Regions from separate parts of the Homo sapiens genome. Here region 2 is linked to region 1. The links are contacts of gene promoters, found by promoter capture Hi-C in human tissues and cell types (Jung and others, 2019). All regions are on one chromosome and are shown on one strand. The core of a region is centred on a gene start or on the middle of the fragment in contact, and the rest is flanking DNA. Distances in the headings are between cores, read along the strand shown. Region 1 has its middle 100 kb from the start of TMEM260. Region 2 holds the start of DLGAP5 (DLG associated protein 5).

Evidence for each region. Contacts are between HindIII fragments. The study calls those that stand out against the background at their distance.
Region 2: the fragment with the promoter of DLGAP5 here is called in contact with a fragment that was not itself captured in region 1 in 1 of the 25 tissues and cell types used here (mesenchymal stem cells).

What each region holds. Positions count from the first base shown.
Region 1 is chr14:56,476,882-56,482,949 of GRCh38, forward strand. No RefSeq gene overlaps it. Among named protein-coding and RNA genes, the nearest start is that of TMEM260, 100 kb to the right of the region's middle. The HindIII fragment of the contact is 5,960 bases long and covers 1-5,777 here.
Region 2 is chr14:55,188,747-55,194,814 of GRCh38, forward strand. It overlaps DLGAP5 (DLG associated protein 5), which reads right to left and starts at 2,839. Exons shown (of 19, transcript NM_014750.5): 1 at 2,717-2,839; 2 at 196-434. The coding sequence starts at 433. It overlaps LOC105370508 (a long non-coding RNA gene), which reads left to right and starts at 2,927. Exons shown (of 2, transcript XR_943888.3): 1 at 2,927-3,056; 2 at 6,043-6,068. RefSeq lists enhancers at 2,029-2,582, 2,583-3,135. The HindIII fragment of the contact is 18,393 bases long and covers 1-6,068 here.

The sequences.
Region 1 (6,068 bases), core at 1,548-4,047:
ATAAAATACCTGCTCACAATTTCCTGTGCTGACAGATTAGGGATAAAATGTCTGAGCTCAAGGAGAAATGGGAAAACCTGCTGGATTGGATTGGTCATTTGGGAAGACTAACATAGGATACAAGGCACCCGCTTAAAACATCACCTGGCTATTTTAAAACCTTTCTGCAGGTCAATGAGCTAAATGGGAGTTCTATGTAGAGGATAAGAAACTATTCATTTCTCTCAGGCTTAGCTTTTCAGAAAAGCCCTCAAAAAAAAAAAAAAAAAAAAAAAAGTCCCTCTACTTCGAGTGCACTAAATCCTCTTGGTGACTTTGGTGAAAGAGACATGAAAGAGCTGATGAAGGCAAATGTGTTTCAGATGGAAAATAATAGCTCTTGGAAAGCAATGCCTGGTGAACATCTGGTGTCCCTTTATTCTGAATGAACATCTGTCACCCTTGGTTAATAGTTTACACCTGTTGACCCAATCAACATCCCTACTACAACCAAAGGTGAAAATACTGATGTTGAGGTCCCACCCCCTAGAGATCCTGATGGAATTTCTTGAGTTTGGCCTAAACTTTGGGATCTTTAACACTCCCTGGATAATTTTAATACGCAGCCAAGATTGAGAACCACTCTGTAAACAGGAGACTTTAATTGGATTTGGGAATATGACTTATTAATGCAAAAATTAAACTAGAGATATGAATTGTTTACAGACTTTTATCATGTGTTTAAAATATTTTAAGTGGTTCTGTTTACATTAAATTTATATCATTTTGATAGTTTTAGACAACTTTGTATTGGATTCATTGAGTCCCTGTCAATATTATAATTCATTGTTTCAGTTATAGGCACTATTAGCAAACAGAAAAATAAAAGTTATAAGTCTACATATTGCTTAAACGTCTATGCATGCAATCCTTCCTTGTGGGGCAACCTTATGATGAATTATTATGGTTACAGACAACCTGGAGTGATTGTTTAGTGTTTCATTACTTTTTTATTTTAAAATGATCTCATATAGTCGCGTTTTGTTTTTTTATCATTGGATAAATATAACTGGGTGACTAGGTGTGGATCTTTGTATAGCAAAGTGACAATTTAACTTGTAATGATAGAAATAGGATTCTAGAAAATCTGTTAAGAAGTCTGCTGGTCAAACATTATCTGAATTCAAAAGTGACTGAACCATGGAGCCAATAAACTATCCTCATGTTGGCAATACCGTGTCCTGTATCTTCAACCGTCTTTATGACTTTGGTTTAATGACTATTAAGGCATGACCACAAACCAAAGAGGAAAAAAATAACGCTGAACTCTAGTCCTAACCCAATGCAAACACATAGATCTATAACTACTCCCCCCACCCACCCATGTATCTACTCGAAAGGAAAACTCAAAAAACTATGAAAACTGTGCCTATTTGAAACCCTTTATTGGTTGTCGCTTTGTTTCATGGTGGCAGATGGGTCAAGTGGTCAACTTAAGATGCACTTTAAGATTACATTCTTCAAAATAAGCAGAAGCCAAAAAAATTTTTTTAACCTGGTGGTTTAGTAAAAACAGAGTTCACTTTATCCTTTTATTTATTCATTCATCCAAGTAGCTGCTGTGTGATAAACAAGTATGCATATCCCTCAGAGGTAGCTAAGAGAAAACCTCCAAGCCAAGAAGCTTAGTCAGGAAAGCCAGTGTTCTATCACATCTGGCCTCAAAACATTTAAAATGTCTTCATTATAAAATTGAGTATACATTTTTAAAAATCTTTAATTTTATTTATTTATTTATTTGAGGCAAGTTCTTGTTCTGTTACCCAGGCTGGAGTGTAGTGGTGTGATCATAGTTCACTTCAGCTTTGACCTCCTGGGCTCAAGCAATCCTCCTGCCTTGGCCTCCCAAGTAGCTGGGAGTACAGGCATGCACCACCATGCCTGGCTAATTTGTTATTTTTTGTAGCAATGGAGGGGGGTCTTGCCATGTTGCCTAGGCTAGACTTGAACTTCTGGCCCCAAGTCATCCTTCTTCTTTGGCCTCCCAAAGTGCTGGGATTATAGGTGTAAGTCACAATGCCTGGCCTAAAAATCTTTAAATATTTTCCACTGGCTTATTTTTACATTCGTAAGTGATATTTTCACCATAAGTCATACAGTTTCTGGGCCTCAGTTCCTCACTTGTGAAGTAATCAATCAGAGCACAAAGGCTAAGCTGCCATCAAGAGACTTAAAATCACAGTGACTTCAATGGGTAGGATGAGAGAGAGCTTAATTTCCCTTCCATGTCCCAGGCTGATCTGGCATTCTGGGATAGTTGGGCTGCTCTGTTACAGAAGGTCATCTATTGACCTGGGATGGCTAGTAGCTCTGTTATTCTCAGTGTGTGACTTCTATCTCTGAGCCCAAGGTATCTACTGTAGCTGTTGCTGCTTCCCAGCCATCAGAAAAAGGAAAGCTTGTGAAAAGCTGCTACTTTGCTGAGGAACTGACTGGAAGTTGAATGTGTCTCTTGTGCTCATATCTCATTGATTCAAATTTAATAGCATGGCGATTCTTAGCTGTAAAGGAGCTAGGGAAATGCACTGTCTTGTTGTGTGGTGTGCTCAGATAAACCTTGGAGAGTTCTATTACTACAGGGCAGAAGGGGAGAATGAATAGTGGGAGATGTTTACTAATCTCTGCCATTTGAAGGGTTGTGACTACATGATTTTTAGTATTGCATTCAGCAGTTAAATCCTGCAAATTCATGATTTTGCATGATTTTGACCAGTCTGCTCTTTAATTTTAAACCCAAAGAGTGTGTGTGTGCATGTGTGTGTGTGTGTGTGTGTGTGTGTGTGTGTGTGTGTGTTGGGCAACAGATGGAGAGTAGGGCAAACAGATGCACTATATTTCTTAATCGTCAATTAACCCAGTGCTTCTCAAACATTAATGTTCGTATAAATCACATGGAGAACGTGTTAAAATGTAGATTCTGATTCAATAAGTCTGGAGTGTGCCATGAGGTTCTGCATTTCTTACAAGCTCCTCTGATGAAGCTGATGTCGATTCTGCTGGTCCGCAGTTAACATTTAGCAAGGAGCTAACCCATCCTGATGAGAAGGCCAGTGCTAGGTGAGGCCTTTTTGGAGAAATAGACAATATAGTAAAATCTCTACTCTCTCACACTGTGCCTTTGATGAAAGTAGACAAGGGATCATCTGGGTCAGCAAAAAGCCATCATACTTTTAATTTAAAAAATGGCAACCCAAATGTTAATTTCCCACGTATTGTGAAACTTGGGAAAGATGGTGTACAATGGGCTTGTGATACTTTCTGATGCTAACTCATGTAAATTCTCAACACATGATCTACCATCTAAAAGTAAAAGTAGATCATGGAATGTTTACATGGCATTTGTTTGGACTTTGGAAGCTTTTGCCTCCATTCCTGTATGGTTTTTTTTTTTTTTTTTTTTTTTTTTGCTAATTGTTTGATTTAAAAGTGAAATCTACCATCACATCCACATAAAGAGTTAATCTCTGTTGGACATCCAAGTAAATATGACAAGCAAAAGGCCATTTAGAGTCAGGAAAGTATTTCCTTCCCTCAAAGACTTTCCTACATATTTCAACTCAACTGGACATTATTAATATCAGTAGACACATATTGAACCATACTTACCTGCCACTTATTCATTTTATAGGATAAGACAATATTTTTCTTGATATAAATTGTTACTTGTCTAATTTAGGAAGTGTTTTCACACTTTGTGTGTGATGAGACATAACACATCGAAAGAGAAAATCGTGAAGATCTTTCTGACATCTTACCATATGACATCTTCTGTCCATTTCTGGACTACAGCATCCTGTCCATTCCCTGGACTTCACACTTGAAAAGGAGCACAGTGAATTTTGAAGCAATTAGCTATTACATTGGAGGAGTCCTGATAGAGTCATTGCCTTTTGGCAAATGACTGGAGTTCAATTTTCCCATTTAAAAATAATGGAGGTATATTCTGACATGTCAATTTCCCAAGCTCTTTGGGGTAGGTCTTCCTGACCCCTTCCCCCAGAGAGTGAATAGCCCTGTGTCTAATCAACAGTTTAGGAGCATTGTCTCATGGTGAAGAGGTCAGATTTGGGGAAAGAACAAAAAAGAGAGTCGTATCAATTCTTATAATGAATATAAAAACATAGGTTCCCCTCCAATTACCATGGAGTTACATCCTGATAAACCCATCATAATTTGAAAATATGGCAAGTCAAAAATGCATTTGATACACCTTAACCTACTGCACATCATAGCTTAGGCTCACCCACCTTAAATATGTTCAGAAGACTTATATTAGCCTACAGTTGGACAAAATCATGTAACACAAATCCTATTTTATAAGAAAGTGCTATGTATCCCATGTAATGTATTGATTTCTGTACTGAAGTATGGTTTCTACTGAATGTGGGTCACTTTCACACAATCATATCGTGAAAAATCTTAAACCCTCCTAAGTCGGGGACAGTCTGTAGATGACAGTATTTGTCTTTGGGTGGAAGATTGTGAGGCATTTAGTTTAAATTTTCTGTTTCCAAATTTTAAGTATTAATATATACTACTTTTATAATCAAAGTGCAATTTAAAATAAAATATATTAGTGAATTCATTAGAAAGAAGAAAGGAAGGAAGGGAGGGATGGAGGAAGGAAGGAAAGAAGGATGAAAGATGAAAGAAAAAAAGGCTCGGAGTGGATGACCTCTACTGTTTCTCCCTGGTTTTAAAATTAATCTTAGATTAGCTATGAATTCTATGACTAGCCTGAGAATAGACAAGATGGTCATTATGGAGAATTTTAAACCTAGTTTCCAAAGTTTTATGCCAAAAAAAAATCTGAATTTAGAGAAAGAGTGCTATTTCCTCAGAGCCAAGAACATTAATCACCAAAATGCTTGGCTGGCACAGGGCTGGAGCCTGCCTACTGGCACTCATTGTGGTCTTGGTATGTCATCTGACTATAGCCCTAAAACAAAATAAAAATGAAAGAATATGCTAATAATAATAATAATTATTATTATTATTATTATAAAAACGCTGCACGGGGAAGTTTATGATCTGTTCTACTGCTTTTTCATTTGTTTTCTTAGGAATGTCTATGTCATGGTTATACCGTGAGTAATATCAACCTTGCAGAGTGCACTTTTTGGCTCTCTATTCTCCTCTGTCAATAGCATCAATTCCAAGATTGGTCACCTTCATTCATGTTAGGATTTCTGTTCCCAAGGACTCAGAAGAGGAATATAACCTTCACTTCCCCTGGCCCAACTTGAGGGGTGGGGAGCAAATAGGACCACAGCTACTGATTATAATACATATTGATTCCATCTACCTTCTCACTTCCATTAAGATCGCTAGGTCTCCAAATGGCAACCCCTTCCCACATTTTGTTCTGTTCCCTTGCAGACAGCCAGGATGTCATCGGCTTGCTTAGTGACCAGTTAAAGATTTCTGGTTATTGCTGTGTCCGTAGTCACTCTCCACTGGCTTCTGCCATGGCTGTTGCAGAGCCACTCCTTTGAACACCCAGGAGTGTCATTCACAAAGAATATAAAGAAATGGTGCCCTCTGCAGTTGCGTAACAAAACAACACCAGCTCCCCTCATGCTTGTAGGCCCTCTCTCTACCTGGAGCCTGCTCTGAACTTTCTGGGCACCCTGCAGCTTTCCCTACTCTCAAGGAAATAAGAGAGGTATCCTTACCCCTCTTTGTGGGTAGCTCCTGAGGAGTACCTGAGTTTGTGCTTCGCAGTCTCATCTGCAGAGGAATTGGGGTGGAGCTCCTAGGGATAGACCCGTGGGCATTTTGAATGGCTCCACCTGCTTTTATTCAGAGGCATTCCTCTCTGCTGTCAGTGTCACAGGACCCTAAGCAGGATCTGGGAAGCTGTCCTCCAGGAAAATGACTTGCCCTTTCCCTTTCTAGTTACATGAGCCAGCACATTTTGTATCTTGCCTAAGCTGCCTTTAGTTGAAATTTTTATAATGTGTAATCCAAACATCTTGACTAATACCTTACTAATACTGCACTTTTTCCTCCCTTTCTTATTCCCTCCC
Region 2 (6,068 bases), core at 1,589-4,088, 1.3 Mb before region 1:
GGTGACACAGTGAGACCCTGTCTCTTGTAATTTAAAAAAAAAAAAAAAAAAAAAAGGAAAAAGACCAAAAAGGAAAGTTATTTATAGAATGGTATTTCAAAACTCTTCTGGCCAGAGTTTTTTACTCACACAGGCATTAAACCAACTATTATTCACTCTTCAAAGTACTTAAAATTACAACAGACCTTTACTTACTTGGCTTAACATTGGTCTTTTCTGGAACAAGCCCTTGAGATGTCTCATCTAATTCAACAAGAATTCTACCTTCCAAGGTTGGAATGTTTACATCTTTCAAACCAAAGTGTCTATTTCGTTCGTATTCCTTATGTCTATTTTCTTTCTGAGACAGTGATTTCCTATGAGCAATTTTAGTTCTAATCATTTCAGTACTTATATCCTTCCTGTGTCGACTGGCAAAATGTGATGAAGACATCCTGTCAAGGAAAAGGACAAAACCCAACTTACATGAATTTTCATTATTTAAAAAATTAAGATTACAGTTCATTTCCTGTCCCACTTCAGGGCCTTCTGAAATAAAAATATAAAATGTGCAATGAAATAAATATGTAACACTGAAAAGTGAGAAGAAGATTATCAGAGAATAAGAAGCTACCTATTTGGGGGTTTTAAATAGGAACTTGCTTGACCAGTGAAGAGAAAGCCAGTAAGTGATAGTCCAGAATAAAAGAGGCTCTGGGCTTACCACAGAGAACACTGCAAAAAGAAAAGCGTGAAATAAAGGTGAAAATAGGTTAAGTGAAGGACCATGTACACAAGGGTTTCCTTACCCATGATGAGGAATGCAGGTAGTCTAACATTTCTTCTAAAGCCAAAAGAAAACCAAAAACAAACAAAAACCCCACACCAGGTACCTATTAGTCATATAGGGATAATCAATAGGCAACCGGATACAGATAGAGTTGGATAGAGAGGCACAGGGCAAAGTATGTGGAAAGGAACAAGGAGCTTCCATGCTCTCTCAGGTAGCACCACTGTTTAGGAACCTTCATGTATTCACCTAAGAAGCTCTCCAAACACAGGTGTTTTTTTTTGGTTTTTATGGCAGCTTCATTACATAAGCATGAGTGATTAAATCATTGACCACTGGTGATCAAGTCAACCTTCAGCTCCTCTCCCCTCCCCAGAGGTTGTGAGGTGGGGCTGAAAATGCCAACTCTCGAGAAATCCTGCCTTGGTCTGTCTAGTGACCAGCCCCAATCCTGAAGCTATTTAGAGGCATCCAGCTATCAGTCAATCATTAGCATACAAAAAGGTACCACTTTGAAGACTCCAAGGATTTTAGTAGTTGTTTGCCAGAAAACAGAACAAGACCAAATATATAGTTCACAATAACCCTATCAGTTTGCTCCATTATTTTCATCCATACAAGAAATCATACAGTTTAGGCCGGCACGGTGGCTTAGGCCTGTAATCCTACCACTTTGGGAGGTCGAGGCAGGACTGCTTGAGCCCAGGAGTTTGAGACCAGCCTGGGCAACATAACACGACCCCGTCTCTATAAATTTTAAAAAAGAAAAGCCATACACACACACACACACACACACACACGCACAAAATCATATAGTTTAATTGGCACATGCCTTTTTCTTGGAAAGATCTTTGAGAATGTATTCAAGCAAAACAAAAGAGGACAATAAAGACGACGTCAGTAGATCCAACTAGGGAGAACAAAGAAAATTAGAAAGTTTGAGGGGGTCACCTGTGTAGCTGGTATAGAGAACTACCAAGCCAAACTGGAGAAAGGATACTGATTCTCAGAAGTCTTGGCAGTTAAAAAACAAAAACAAAAAAAGGTAAGGGGGAGGCTCTGTGATAGACACACTATGGTATATTCTTCAACAAGAATTAACTAAATCCACTAGAAAACTCCAGATAATAGAAAAATTGGCACAAGTAATGCAATACATTGTTACATGATTCTAAGCAATCAACAAAATATAAAAAACGAGAATCTGTCTGACCTGCATGCTAATAACATTCTCCTCTAAGACCCAAGGAAAGTGACAATGGACTGTGCTTTTCATAAAGAACTGTCTTCTACTATTTATCTCCTGCAATATTAATTCGCTAAAGATTGAAGAAAAATTAAGACTTATGTATTAAATACAGGATAGCACTATCCACAGCAAGAGAAAGAGCGAGCGAGGACAACATTAAAGGTACAATTATCAGAATAACCCTGAAAGGTAGTTAACTATTATCGCTCTCATACAGATGAGGTCAATTAACTGCTCACATTAGCATATCTAAAAGGTGGTGAAGCTGGGATCCCAAGCAAGGCAGCCCTGGCTCCACACACACCTAAATTTTGTTTGGCTGAGTGGCGTTTCCTCCAGCTTGAAAGTCCAGAATGCGTTAATCTTGCTTGACTAGAGGTTCTCAACCGGGCGTTTTTAGTTGCCATGGGACCTGGGAAGAGCTACGGGAATTTAATGTCGGAGCTAGTGAAGAACAGTTTCACCCCAAAGGTCAATTACGCCCCGGTGGTGAAACGCTGACTATTACAGAGGTCAGGGCAAACATATGGACTCTTCTAAAGGCTCGCATTATCAGCTTCGGGAAGGGCAGGTAACACGGTCCTAAAGGAGCCTGCCTCTGACTTGCTCCCGCTCGCAGCCCCCGGTCCTCAGACCCTTCTAGACCTTCAACGGAAGCGGGCCAGTGTTCTCCGTCCAGCTCTCCAGCACCCACCTACCTGAGCCACCTTCTAGCGTGAAACCTCAACCAAACAAAAAGTAAAGAACACTCGGTCTGGACGACCACCGCCGACTCCGAAGCAGGAACCCTCACAACCCGAGCCTCCACGAAATTCAAACTTGCCGCACCGAGCCGCTGATTGGAGGGGCTTTAACCAACACTTCCGGGGAAGATCCCACCCCTTCCACTCAACGAGGCTTGCGATTGGTTTGCTCCGTGCGATATTTGAATTGATTGAAAGGTGAAGGGCCAGTTCAAAAGATGGGTGAGAGAGGGAAAATAGGCGGGACCGCGACGCGGGATGAGAAGGAGTGGAGCAGTCGGGGCGCTCACGTCAGGTGAAGGGCGGGAGTGGGCGGTGGAGCCCGAGGGGTGAGGCTGGGTCCCTGGCAAAGCTGGGCTGCGGGAAATCTCCCCCAGAGCTCGCAAGGCTTTTTTTTTTTTTCTTTTTTCTTTTTTTTGAGACAAGGTCTCTGTCCCTTAGGCTGGAGTATAGTGGGCACCGACCACTGCTCACTGCAGCCTTGAGCTGCTGTGTTCAAACCATCCTCCCACCTCAGCCTCCCGAGTAGCTGGGACTATAGGCGCGCACCACTACGCCTGGCTAACTTTAAAAAAATTCCGTAGAGACAGGGCCTCACTACGTTGACCAAGCTGGATTCAGGGCTTTTTAATGTCCTTGTTTAGTCACAGAATCTAGCAGACCTTCTTGGAATGTTTTCTTTACTAGACGTTTTAAAGAAAAGGCTTACCCCAATTATCAAATCCTTACATAGTTTAGCGTTACTTTTCAACGTCGCCAGCCCCCCTCCCCTTTTTTTTCTTTTTTAGTTCATTTTTTGTTGAGGCGAAGTTTTCGTATACAGTGAAAATAATAGTTTTTCCCCCCCAGTGGACAATTTGATGAGTTTGGTAAATGTAAACAGCTGTGTAACTACCACCCAATCAGGACGTAGAGCATTTCCATCACTCAGAAGAGTGGCCTGTTTCTTTCCTGTCCATCTCCCACCACATCAGCAACCACTCCTCTTATTTCTAGCACTATAAAAATGAAGGTGATAGGTACTCTTTTGGGTCTGCGTGAACCAGAAGTTAGTAGTGTTTGTTATTGAGAGGCATTCCATTGAATACTTTATGCATTCACCAGTTGATGGATTTGTATTGCTTTCAATTTTTGGTGATGATGAGCAAAGTTGCTATAACCATTCTCGTACAAGTCCTTGTGGGCATATTTTATTTATCTTGAGGAAATACAGGAGTGGAATTTCTGGGTCATTCTGGGTATGTTTAACTTAAAATTTTTTTTTTTTTTTAGAAGCAGGGTCTCTCCGTCCCCCAGGCTAGAGAGCAGTGGCACAATCATAGCTCATTGCAGCCTTGGCCTCTTGAATAGCTGGGACTATAGGCGGGTGCCGTCACCCATGTCTAACTTTGTAAGGAATTGCCAAGCAGTTTTCCAAAGTGGTTGTACCATTTTACAATTCCCACCAGCCACATATAAGAGTTCCACTTGTTTCACATGCTTTCCAGCACGTGGGGTTGTCAGTCTCTAATGTTCACCCTTCTGGCCAGGCACTGTGGCTTGCGCTTGTAATCCCAGCACTTTGGGAGGTCAAGGCGGGGGGATCACGAGGTCAAGAGATCAAGATCACCCTGGCCAATATGGTGAAATGCCGTCTCTGCTAAAAATACAAAAATTAGCCGGGTGTGGTGGTGCGCGCCTGTAGTCCCAGCTACTCAGGAGGCTGAGGCAGGAGAATCGCTTGAATCCAGGAGGTGGAGGTTGCAGTGAGCTGAGATCGCACCACTCCACTCTGGCCTGGGTGACAGAGTGAGACTCCATCTCAAAAAAAAAAAAAAAAAAAAAGAGACTGAGAATGGTGGCTCATACCTGTAATTTCAGCACTTTGGGAGGCCAAGATGGGAGAATCAGTTGAGGCCAGGAGTTCAAGTCCAGCACTGGCAACATAGCAAGACCCCATCTCTACCAAATAATAATAATAATAATAATACAATATTAGCTGGGCATGGTGGCGCACATCTCTAGTCCCACTACTTGGGAGGCTGAAGTGGGAACATCACTGGAGCCCAGGAGTTTGAGGTTACAGTGAGCTATGATCGCACCACTGTACCCTAGCCTGGACAAAAAAGTAGGAACCTGTCTCAAAAAAAAAAAAAGAAAAGAAAACTATTCTGCTATTAAGAAACTCTGATGCATTCTTCAGCATGTCAATTATATTTTTTGACCCTAGAATTTCTGCTTCTTTTAAATTATTTCAGCTTCTTTGTTAAATTTATCTGATAGAATTCTGAATTCCTTCTCTGTGTTATGTTGATTTTCTTTGAGATTCCTCAAAACAGCTGCTTTGAATTCTCTGCCTGAAAGTTCCTATATCTATGTTTCTCCAGGATTGGTCCCTGGTTCCTTATTTAGTTCATTTCATGAGATCATGTTTCCTGGATGGTGTTAATGCTTGTAGATGTTCATTGGTGTGTGGGCATTGAAAAATTAAGTATTTATTGTAGTCTTCACAATCTGGGCTTGTTTTTGGCTGTCCTTCTTGGGAAGGCTTTCAGGGTGTTTGAAGGGACTTGTGCCCCAAGCCTAATAATGCTGTGGTTTTTTCAGACTTGTAGAGGTACCACCTTGATAGTCTTGGCAAAGATCTGGAAGAATTCTCTGAATTACAGGCAGAGACTCTTGTTCTTTTCACTCACTTGCTCCGAAATAAATGGAATGTCTCTCTCTGCTGAGCCAGCTGGAACTGAGGGTGGTGGCTCACTGTGGCCACCACCACTGGGACTGTGCTGGATCAGACCTTAAGCCAGCACCTATCATGGCAGTGAGTTCCCCTAGGCCCCGGCTGTTCCCAGAGCTGGGCTGTCTGGGAGCCAGGGATTGGAGTCAGAAATCTTAGCAATTTACCTGAAGTTCTTTTTATTATTATTATTATTATTTTTTTAAGGTGGAGTCTCTGCCGCCCAGGCTGGAGTACAATGGCGCAATCTCAGCTCACTACAACCTCTGCCTCCCAGATTCAAGTGATTCTCCAGCCTCAGTCTCCTGAGTAGCTGGGATTACAGGCGTCCGCCACCACACCCGGCTAATTTTTGTATTTTTATTAGAGACAGGGTTTCACTATGTTGGCCAGGCTGGTCTTGAACTCCTGACCTGGTGATCCACCCACCTCGGCCTCCCATAGTGCTGGGATTACAGGTGTGAGCCACTGCGCCTGGCCTACCTGATGTTCTATTCTACTGTAGCTAACCTGGCATTCAAACCATAATACAAGCCCTTTCAACTCTTCCCTTCCCTTTCCACAGGCAGAGGAGCCTCTCCTATAGCCACC